Linked DNA regions of Homo sapiens: all the other regions are linked to region 3. The links are contacts of gene promoters, found by promoter capture Hi-C in human tissues and cell types (Jung and others, 2019). All regions are on one chromosome and are shown on one strand. Each heading gives the region's core, a stretch centred on a gene start or on the middle of the fragment in contact. The rest is flanking DNA. Distances are from core to core; before and after follow the strand shown. Region 1 has its middle 23 kb from the start of RERG-IT1. Region 2 has its middle 43 kb from the start of RERG. Region 3 holds the start of SMCO3 (single-pass membrane protein with coiled-coil domains 3).

Region 1 (2,882 bases), core at 29-2,528, 280 kb after region 3:
TGACTTCCTGCTGAGCTCAAGCCATCTTCCCACCTCAGCCTCCCAGATAGCTGGGACTACTGGTGCACACCACCACACGTGGCTAATTTATTGTGTTTTTTGGTAAAGATGGGATTTGACCATTTTGCCCCGGCTGGTCCTGACCTCTGCATGTTTTAAATTATAAATGACACTGTGAATCCCTGACTATAGCATTGGACAGATATAAGATGTCTTAGAATGGGAGAAAGAGAAAATTTACAGCTAGTCTGCTTGTGCAGAGTTGTGAATTATAAGTAAAAAGTGATTTTAAGACAAGAGTGAGTGGGATGGGAAAGCTGCTGTGCATCATTTCCTCATAGAGAATATTCAGATAGCTAAACACAGTCGGCTTTGATTAAAAAAAACAAAAAACAAAACAACAACAACAATGACAAAAAACAAAAAGAAAGACCCAATGATAACAAAGAAAATTCATACAGAGGATCTTAAAAGAAGCTTATTTCTCTAGAGGTGAAATAATGGAAATGGAAGAGGAGCTATGAACTGGAGTAACCCAGGAATGAGCCCTTGAGGCGGTTTCTTTAGGTTAGAAAGGAGAGTTCATAAGAACCCTGGGATGAATCTCTGGAGAGATTTAAAGGCAGCTGAGCTTGGCTATTGAATGACATGAAACCCTAAAAATACAATAGGGATATCTCTTTCCAGGTCAGGAAATACCAGTGTGCCCCAATCTATTCACAAAGAATGGATAGCTGAAAGTCCTTACTATCAGCTGGTAATAGCAGCAATGAGAGGAAAATACTAGGCTAGGCTGTGTTCTTCAGCCAGAAATGATCCCCTTTTTACCTTCGGATAATAGCAGCAAAGGGAAACACATCTGCCAGCACACTAGGAGTTACACATGGAGCTCCATTTGGTTTGTTTCAATGATTTAAACAAAAGAAAACAAATAGTGCTAGATCGGCATTTTCCTGGAACTAGAACTGCTCTTTCTTGCAGGGAAACCACTGCACATTCTAGGTGGGACTGAACTTTTCCTCCAGCCAGAGGGGTTAGCAGCAAGCATGGTCTTGAGTAACTAGAGTATCCAACCTTCTGGCCACAGTGAATGATTTAAGGATGGGCTTAATACCCACATCAGGACAGTCAAGGTCTGTGAAGGTTTTTTTTCAGTAGAAAATATCATCAAAAACTCTTATCCCCAGGTTGACCAGTAGCTGTTTTTTTTGTTTTGTTTTGTTTTGTTTGTTTTCTATTTTGTGGCCTGAGAAAGAAGAGAAAATCCTGATGTGCTTTAAAAATCCCTGCATCTATTCACGCCTGAAGCCGTTATCTTTGATCTTCCCAGTCATTTAAGCCAGATCGGATAGTTTCTGCCAGCTACGACTGAAAATGTACTGACTAATACATGTTGTGTTTTCTTGTGTGCCACAGAAAAGAGTTTGTCAAAGAAGAGGCAGTACATATTTAGAAGACTCTGTAGTGAAGGGAGAAAATAAAGTATACTCCCTCTTGACTCATGAAGGATGCTCAAGTACCTGAAAATTCTCCTGATAGAAGAGCTTTCCCTGAACGAGTTCAGGACGTTATGTAACAACAATAAGACTGGATGATCAAATATATGTATTTATTAAGTTTGTAAAAATCAAACAAATTTAAAACTGAGTAAAGATATTCTTGTTGATTTTTAAAGCAAGCTTTAGTATAATATTTTACATACAATATCCTATATGCAATGGATATACAATTAATGTATGTATACTATTACTTGCTTGCTGAAAATTTTTAGATTTCTGTGTCCCTTGAACTTCCATAAAGTGGTTGTAATTTTTTTTTTTGCATTATTGCATACTAGTAAGCATTGAATCTAAACCTCTTTCCAAATGTTCATCACTTTCTAGGTTTAATGACTTTGAGTCACTCATCCATGCCTAGATCCAAGATCTCTCCAATTATGCAGAACAATCTGGACACTTGAGATGGAAAAAGCTTCAGATAACCTTTGCAATTATTTCCCCATGTCTTCCCCAATACTGGTTTCAACAATCTTCACTCTTCCCCTGACATCCTCAGACCATAGCTCAAATTACCAAGATTTCTGGGCATGATTGCCCTTCTCATAAGCTCTAGAGTGCTTCTTTGTTTTCTCTCGCTTCTATTTCTATTCTTGTTCTGACATCACTGAGGTTGTTTGGCAGTTTAGCTATCTACGGGCTGCTCGGAGGAGCTGATTTCTTGGGGTGCTGCCTTGAAGGCATCAGAAATTAATATATCTACCTCCTTCCCCTCATGCCTTAGATGCGTTTTGCCTGGTTTACATGAGACTCTCTATAAAAGGAATCTGGACAAATTGATGTCAAGGTTACTTAAAGGGAATCTCTGTTCTGGAATACAAAACATTAAGTTAATTAGGGAGATTTTGGTATTCAGGTGAATGATGGCGGCCTGAGTTCTTTGTACCATTTTAATGAAACAGACATTATTATAAAATTGGTGTCAAGAAGCTTCATTTTAAATTTGGTTTCACCCCGTCTCCAGGAGCTACACAAATTACCCAGGTGCTTTTGTCAAGGCTCTCAAAACTCTAAGAACCTTGAAGAACCTTAGCTCTGGTGCAGTAATGTGAAGATCTGGCATAGCCCTCTGTATGGTGGCAGAAAACTGAAACAATATAGAGCTCATTCCCTTCCCCTTGAAATTCACAGATCCTTCAGAAAATAGATATTTGATATTTGATATATTTGATATAGTTTCTCGTTCTGCCTGTCTCTTTGGCCCTACTGCAGAAATTGTCACACTTTGATGGAAAATAAATTCTTTGAAGATAAAATCATCACCTAGGGAGCTTGTTACGATGCAGATTTCTGAGCTCCCCTGCCATACATTCTACATCAGTGGGT
Region 2 (2,967 bases), core at 460-2,959, 450 kb after region 3:
CTTTTGGATTTTTGCCATGTGAAGTCATAAGTTTCTCTTTTGCAGGGAATATAGACATCACCAGATAACCAAAACCTCCTGGTACCTTAATCTTGGACTTGTCAGCCTCTACAACTGTGAGAAATAAATTTCTATTCTTTATAGATTACCCAGTCTGTAGTATTCTCTTGTAGCAGCACAAATGGACTAAGATAACAGTCAACTCATCTTTGATAATGGCCCAAGAGTATACAACATGAAAAGGATAGTCTGTTTGATAAGTAGTTTTGGGAAAACTGGATATAAATAATTTGAAAGGGAATACAACACTTTCACGATTCATAGGTAATGTGATTGTAAACATAGAAATCTAGAATAATCTAAATAGATTTTTAAATTAACAAAAGGATTTAGTAGAGTATCTGGATACAACCTAAATATACATATATCAATTGTATTTCTATTAACAGAAACAAATAACTAGGAAAAAAGTATCACTTACAATAGCATTAAACAATCTAAAAATATTAGGAATTCATAAAATATGTGAAAATCTCCATAGAGAAAATTATGATTTTATTGAAGAATATTAAAAAGACCAAAAGTAAAAGGAAGATATGCCATGTTTATGGGAAAAAATATTTTTCAGATGTAAATTTTATCAAAATTAATCTATAAATTTCATAAGATTCTCATAAAAATGAGAAGAGATAAGAACAGGCAAGATCCTCTTGAAGAAGACATATTAGACAAAAAAGTCATCTATCAGATAATAGAATTTGCTTGAAGCTATGGTAATTAAGACAGTGTTTTTTTTTTTAGCACAGAGATAAGGAGCATAGACTAGTGACACAGATCAGGAGTTCAAATACAGGCCTTCACATATATGGACACAAAATGACAGAGACACCATAATGTGCCAATGGGTAATTGGCAAGCTTCAACAAATAGAACTGGGACAGTGAAATGACCACTTGAAAAAAAAATTTAAATGGTATTTCCAGATAGATGAAGAGCCTGAAAGTGAAAGACAAATCTATAAAACTTTAGGAGATAAGAAAATATCTCCATGAAGTAGAGTAGGAGAATATTTCTTAAACAATATACAAAAGTCACTAAGTAAAAAGGAAAAATCAAAAAATTCAAACACATTCAAATTTTTAAAACCCATTCATAAAAACAATATTAATGAGAGTGAAAAGATAAGCCATAGAAAGAGAGGTTATGATTGCAACACATATATCTTGAAAAAAGATCTGGTATACCAGCGAAATCTTACAAATCAAGAATAAATACACCACCACCTAAAAGAAAATGAGTAAATAAGGCTTTAATGGTTTCCTTACAAAAGATGAGATCCAGGCAACCTGTAATGCATTAAACTGTGTCTCTCAAAAATTCACATAGTGAAGTGCTAGCCCCCAATACTGCAGAATGCAATAAAATTTACAAATAGGATTGTTGCTTACGTAATTAGTTAAGACAAGATCACACTGAAGTAAGCTGAGCTCCTAACTCAATATGATCATTGCCTTATAAAAAGAGGAAATATGGACAGAGACACACCAACAGGGAGATTGCCGTGTGGACATCATGGCAGAGATTGGGCTGGTGCATCTGTAAACCAAGAAGCACAAAAGATTTCCAACAAACCACCAGGAGCAAGGCAAGAGGCACAGAAGAGATTCTCACAACCCACAGAAGGAACCAACACTGCTAGCGCCCCAGACTTCCAGCCTCCAGAACTGTGAGACAATAAGTGTCTGTTTAAGCCACCCAGTTTGTGGTCTTTGTTACAGCAGCCCAAGCAAACTAATTTATGGTTAATTAACCTAAGAAAATGTGACCAAGCTAGTAATTAGAAAAATCAAAATAATAATAATCTATTTCTGCACGCCGATCAGATTGGCAATAGTACAAAAATATCAATGAATGGTGAGGATGTAGAGCAATAGAACTATCCTGTCATCTACTACTTTTGACAACCACTTTCCAAACAGTTTGGAACAACTTGATATCATCTGGTAAGTTAAATGTATACATTATTTCTTAATTCAGAAATTCTACTGTCAGGTGTATATCCTAGTGACTAATCAGTGTGTATAATGATTTCTAGTCACCCAGGATACATACACAAACGTGTAATTAGAAGCTAAATGAGAAACAAACTAAATCTATCAATAGCAAAGTAAATAAATAGATCAGTGTATACAGTTGATCCTTGAACAACACAGGTTTGAACTGCATGGGTCCACTTACATAGGAATTTTATTTTTCAGTAAAAACGGTAGGACCTCTGTATGGGCAGGTTCCACATCCACACGTGGATCAAAAATACTGTACAATATTCACAGAATGTGAAACCCTTATATAGGGAGGTATAACTTTTCATATCTGCAGGGCCAACTGTGAGACTTGAGTATGTGCTGATTTTGTTATCCATGGGCAGTCCTGAAACCAATGTCTCATGAATACTGAAGGCCAACTGTATTTCTTGCAGCAATGAAAAAAAAGTAAAGCTACGCACAACAATACGGATGACCATCACAAACAAAATTTTTAAAATATGATACAGATGGTTACATAAGTGTTTGCTTTATGATTATTTGTTAAACCAAATCAGCACATTATTTGTTTTTCTCTAGTTATATTTCACAATTTAAAAATTCTAATCTTTGTTTTCTATTTGGGGAAGTCCCACCCAATGGCTTCAATCTTTAGGTAGAAATTTGTCACTTGCCTACCTCTAAATGCACAGTCCAGAAGAGTAAAAACAGCAACAATGACAAGATTCTGTTTAAGAAAAAAGAAGAAGATAGATATTTGGTAAGGAATTAGTAGTATCTGCTCCCCTTGTGCCAGTCGTTGTTTGACATGCTTGTGCAATTATACTTTTTCTTTTTTATATACTTTTAAGGTATATATTTTTTCATACAAAAATGTGCATAAATGAGGTCTGCTCTAAAACTTGAGGAAGAAATTTTCTAC
Region 3 (2,953 bases), core at 152-2,651:
GAGGTACATACACAGGTTTGTTCCCTGACTATACTGTGTGTTGCTGAGGTTTACTGTGAATGATCCTGTCACCCAGATACTGAGCATAGTGCTGGTATATTTCCCAGTCAAAGATGGTCCTGTTTAAATATTGTTGATTTGGGAAGAGTAAGGTTAAATTTCAAAAAGAGAAGTTCTTGCCTATTTGGAAATACATACTGAAAACATTTAAGATGAAATGAAATGGTCTCAGAGATTTGTTCACAAATAATCTGGAAAGAATAGTGGGGTAGGGTTATAGAGGAAAAAAGATTGGCCTTGTTTTGATAATTTTTAAAGCTGAGTTATGGGTACATGGGAGTTTATTATATTATTGTCTCTACTTCTGTGTATGTTTGAACTTTTCTTATAACAAATAAAAAAGAAAGAAAAAGAAAAACGTGACCCTGTCTAAACCTCTGATGTTTAGTCGTTAGTGCTCTCTGAGGTTTTACATTTCTTCTTGCTGTCACTTTTCTTCACTGTCCAAACAGGGTTTTGCCATCATGCACAGTTTCCTTATCTGGGAGTGTGGAAATAGGGTATAGGTAAAATCAGGAGCTTTTCAGAAGAAAATAACAGCTTCTAACTAGTTCTGAGTCTCCTTTAATTCAAATAAAAATCTGTGGCCTTTAATTAAAACAAAAATTGATCATGATGTGATGATATACTTTCTGATATAAATTCATTTAAAAAATGTTTCTGACCAGAAAGAAGAATATTAAAGTCATTCATCAGCATTTATCAAGTGCTCACTGGTGAAGCCTCTACTGTGTCCCTTGAGGCATTTGAAAACGACAATGTTCCTTGCCCTCAAGACGATAACAGCCTGTTTGGAGACACACAGCAAATGCTCAGAGATATTTAGATACAACATAATTTATGAAGGAGTATAAGTACTATACATTAACCAGTATTAGATTCCACATTCATTCTTTCATAGATAGGTACTGAGTGCCTATATTAATATTAATGACATAGAAGGAAATGTTACTATCCATGTAAACTTCACACATTCACACAGGTATCATTTCATCCTTAATCCTTCTTAGAATTGATGTCTTTACTGCTTCTCTTCCACTCTGACTTAATCAGTCCTAGAAATTGTTAATTTTCTTCCTTCTCTGCTGTCTTCAGAGAAGGCACCAGGAAAGGTTCCTTCCAAATCACAAGGAACATGTCATGGGATCCTCTTATAACAAAGCTGTTTTTTTACTTTATTTTATTTATGGTTAGGATTCAAGACTGACGGGCTAATTCAAATTCCTCCTACTACTGAGAAACAGAGTATTATATCAATACTAATAGAAATATCCACGTTGCTTACCTTGCTGTGTTTCTGAGTTCCGTGGTCCTAGCAGTTGTTTAGGAGTATTGTTAAAGTGCTTTTTCATCTGGTTTCATCTGGATATTTCTGATGGAATGTGATGACTTACAGACTTTGCTAGTCTCTGCTGGGTCCCTCTGCCTGTCTGGTTTATAGGCTATTTCTACATGGCTTGGCCCTCAGAATTCCTTCATTTCCTATTAATAAAAACTTAGTATACAGTATTAAGTTATATAAACTGGAAGACTAATAGTGTGTAAAACTTATTTTTAAATTTCTGTTCTTTAATGGACTTTTTATTGTTGAGAAGCGCTATATAACTGAGCTAATTCAATTTAGTAGAGAAGATGGCTCTTTGATTGCAGCTCTCAGATTTTGGGGTTTTATCTTGTCAACTATTCCAGATACTAAGTTTCTTTTAGCTTCTGTTGCATTTGCACCTCTAACTGTTGCTGATTATTTAAATTCTCAAGATATATAAATGCAGTTACTTGCATCCAATTTTTTTTTCTCTTCTTTCCAGCTAGGAGTTCTCCTCTTTGTCATTCTTTCTCTTCCTGTGTTTGTAAATTGTCTTGACAATATAAAAACCTTAAAGTCCAACTTCACTCTTTTCCCTGAAAGCTCAGATCAGTCTTCCCTGCTGCTTCTTCCCAGCTTCAGTCTTCAGACCCGTTAATTCCTCCACAGCAAAGACACCTGAGTGGCAGGGAAATCACTCAGCCCCAGTGTAACTTAGTGAAAGACAGCAGGCTTTACACTCAGACAGTCCTGGTTTTGTGTACTCCAAGTACCACTTACTAGTCATGTAATCCTAAGAAAGTCACTTAGCCTGAGTTTTCCCATTGGTGTAATATGAGTATTAGTTAATAATTTATGGATTAAATGGGATAGTGTTTATAAAGTAATTGGCATAGTGGCTGATATGTGGCAAAATCTTATGAAACGGTAGCTATTCATATATTAACAACAGTATCTCCTGGTGGAGGGGAGAGGAGAATGGGTGGGTACAGGATACAGAATCAAAATGCCAGACAGGCAGACAGGAAACTTTAAAATCTAAAGATGCTGCCCTGTGATTCTAAAGAAGGGCTAAGTGGGGTCACTTTTCTACTTTTGTCCCAGTGGATCATCTTGCCCTTGATGTATCCAGGGCCCCACCACGTACGGATGTGTGGCCAGTGTATCTGAACTAGGTATGGATGTTAAGTAGGATTTTAATAGATGTTTGGGGAGGATGGTGGTATAGAGGAAATAATACAGATAGAGGGAACACTGAGAGCAAAGGAGCTGAACCAAAAATTGTAGAACATTTTCAGGGAACAAAAACCAACCTGCTGGTGATACAGGGTGTAAGTGGGAGCAGTTAAGGGAAGGTAAGTCATGGAAAATTGAAAATAGTTTGTAGATAGCCTTAGATGTCATGCTAGGAAATTGTATTTCATTCTGTAGATAATAATGAACCATTAAAAAATCCTTTTAATTATGGTGTAATATTTGGAGATTTGGATTTCAGGAAGGGTACATTATGTAAACTTGATTAGTAGGTATGGACAATAAAGCATAAGTTACCAACCCCATTGCCTACAGTATGTGGACAAAATATGT

What was found. Contacts are between HindIII fragments. The study calls those that stand out against the background at their distance.
Region 1: a contact is called between a fragment that was not itself captured here and the fragment with the promoter of SMCO3 in region 3, in 3 of the 25 tissues and cell types used here (aorta, mesenchymal stem cells and ovary).
Region 2: a fragment that was not itself captured here is called in contact with the fragment with the promoter of SMCO3 in region 3 in 2 of the 25 tissues and cell types used here (dorsolateral prefrontal cortex and hippocampus).

The regions. Positions count from the first base shown.
Region 1 is chr12:15,089,711-15,092,592 of GRCh38, forward strand. No RefSeq gene overlaps it. Among named protein-coding and RNA genes, the nearest start is that of RERG-IT1, 23 kb to the right of the region's middle. The HindIII fragment of the contact is 3,882 bases long and covers 1-2,882 here.
Region 2 is chr12:15,262,517-15,265,483 of GRCh38, forward strand. No RefSeq gene overlaps it. Among named protein-coding and RNA genes, the nearest start is that of RERG, 43 kb to the left of the region's middle. The HindIII fragment of the contact is 7,678 bases long and covers 1-2,967 here.
Region 3 is chr12:14,812,781-14,815,733 of GRCh38, forward strand. SMCO3 (single-pass membrane protein with coiled-coil domains 3) reads right to left here and starts at 1,402. Exons shown (of 2, transcript NM_001013698.2): 1 at 1,346-1,402. The region is part of intron 1 of C12orf60 (chromosome 12 open reading frame 60); the gene reads left to right. The HindIII fragment of the contact is 14,769 bases long and covers 1-2,953 here.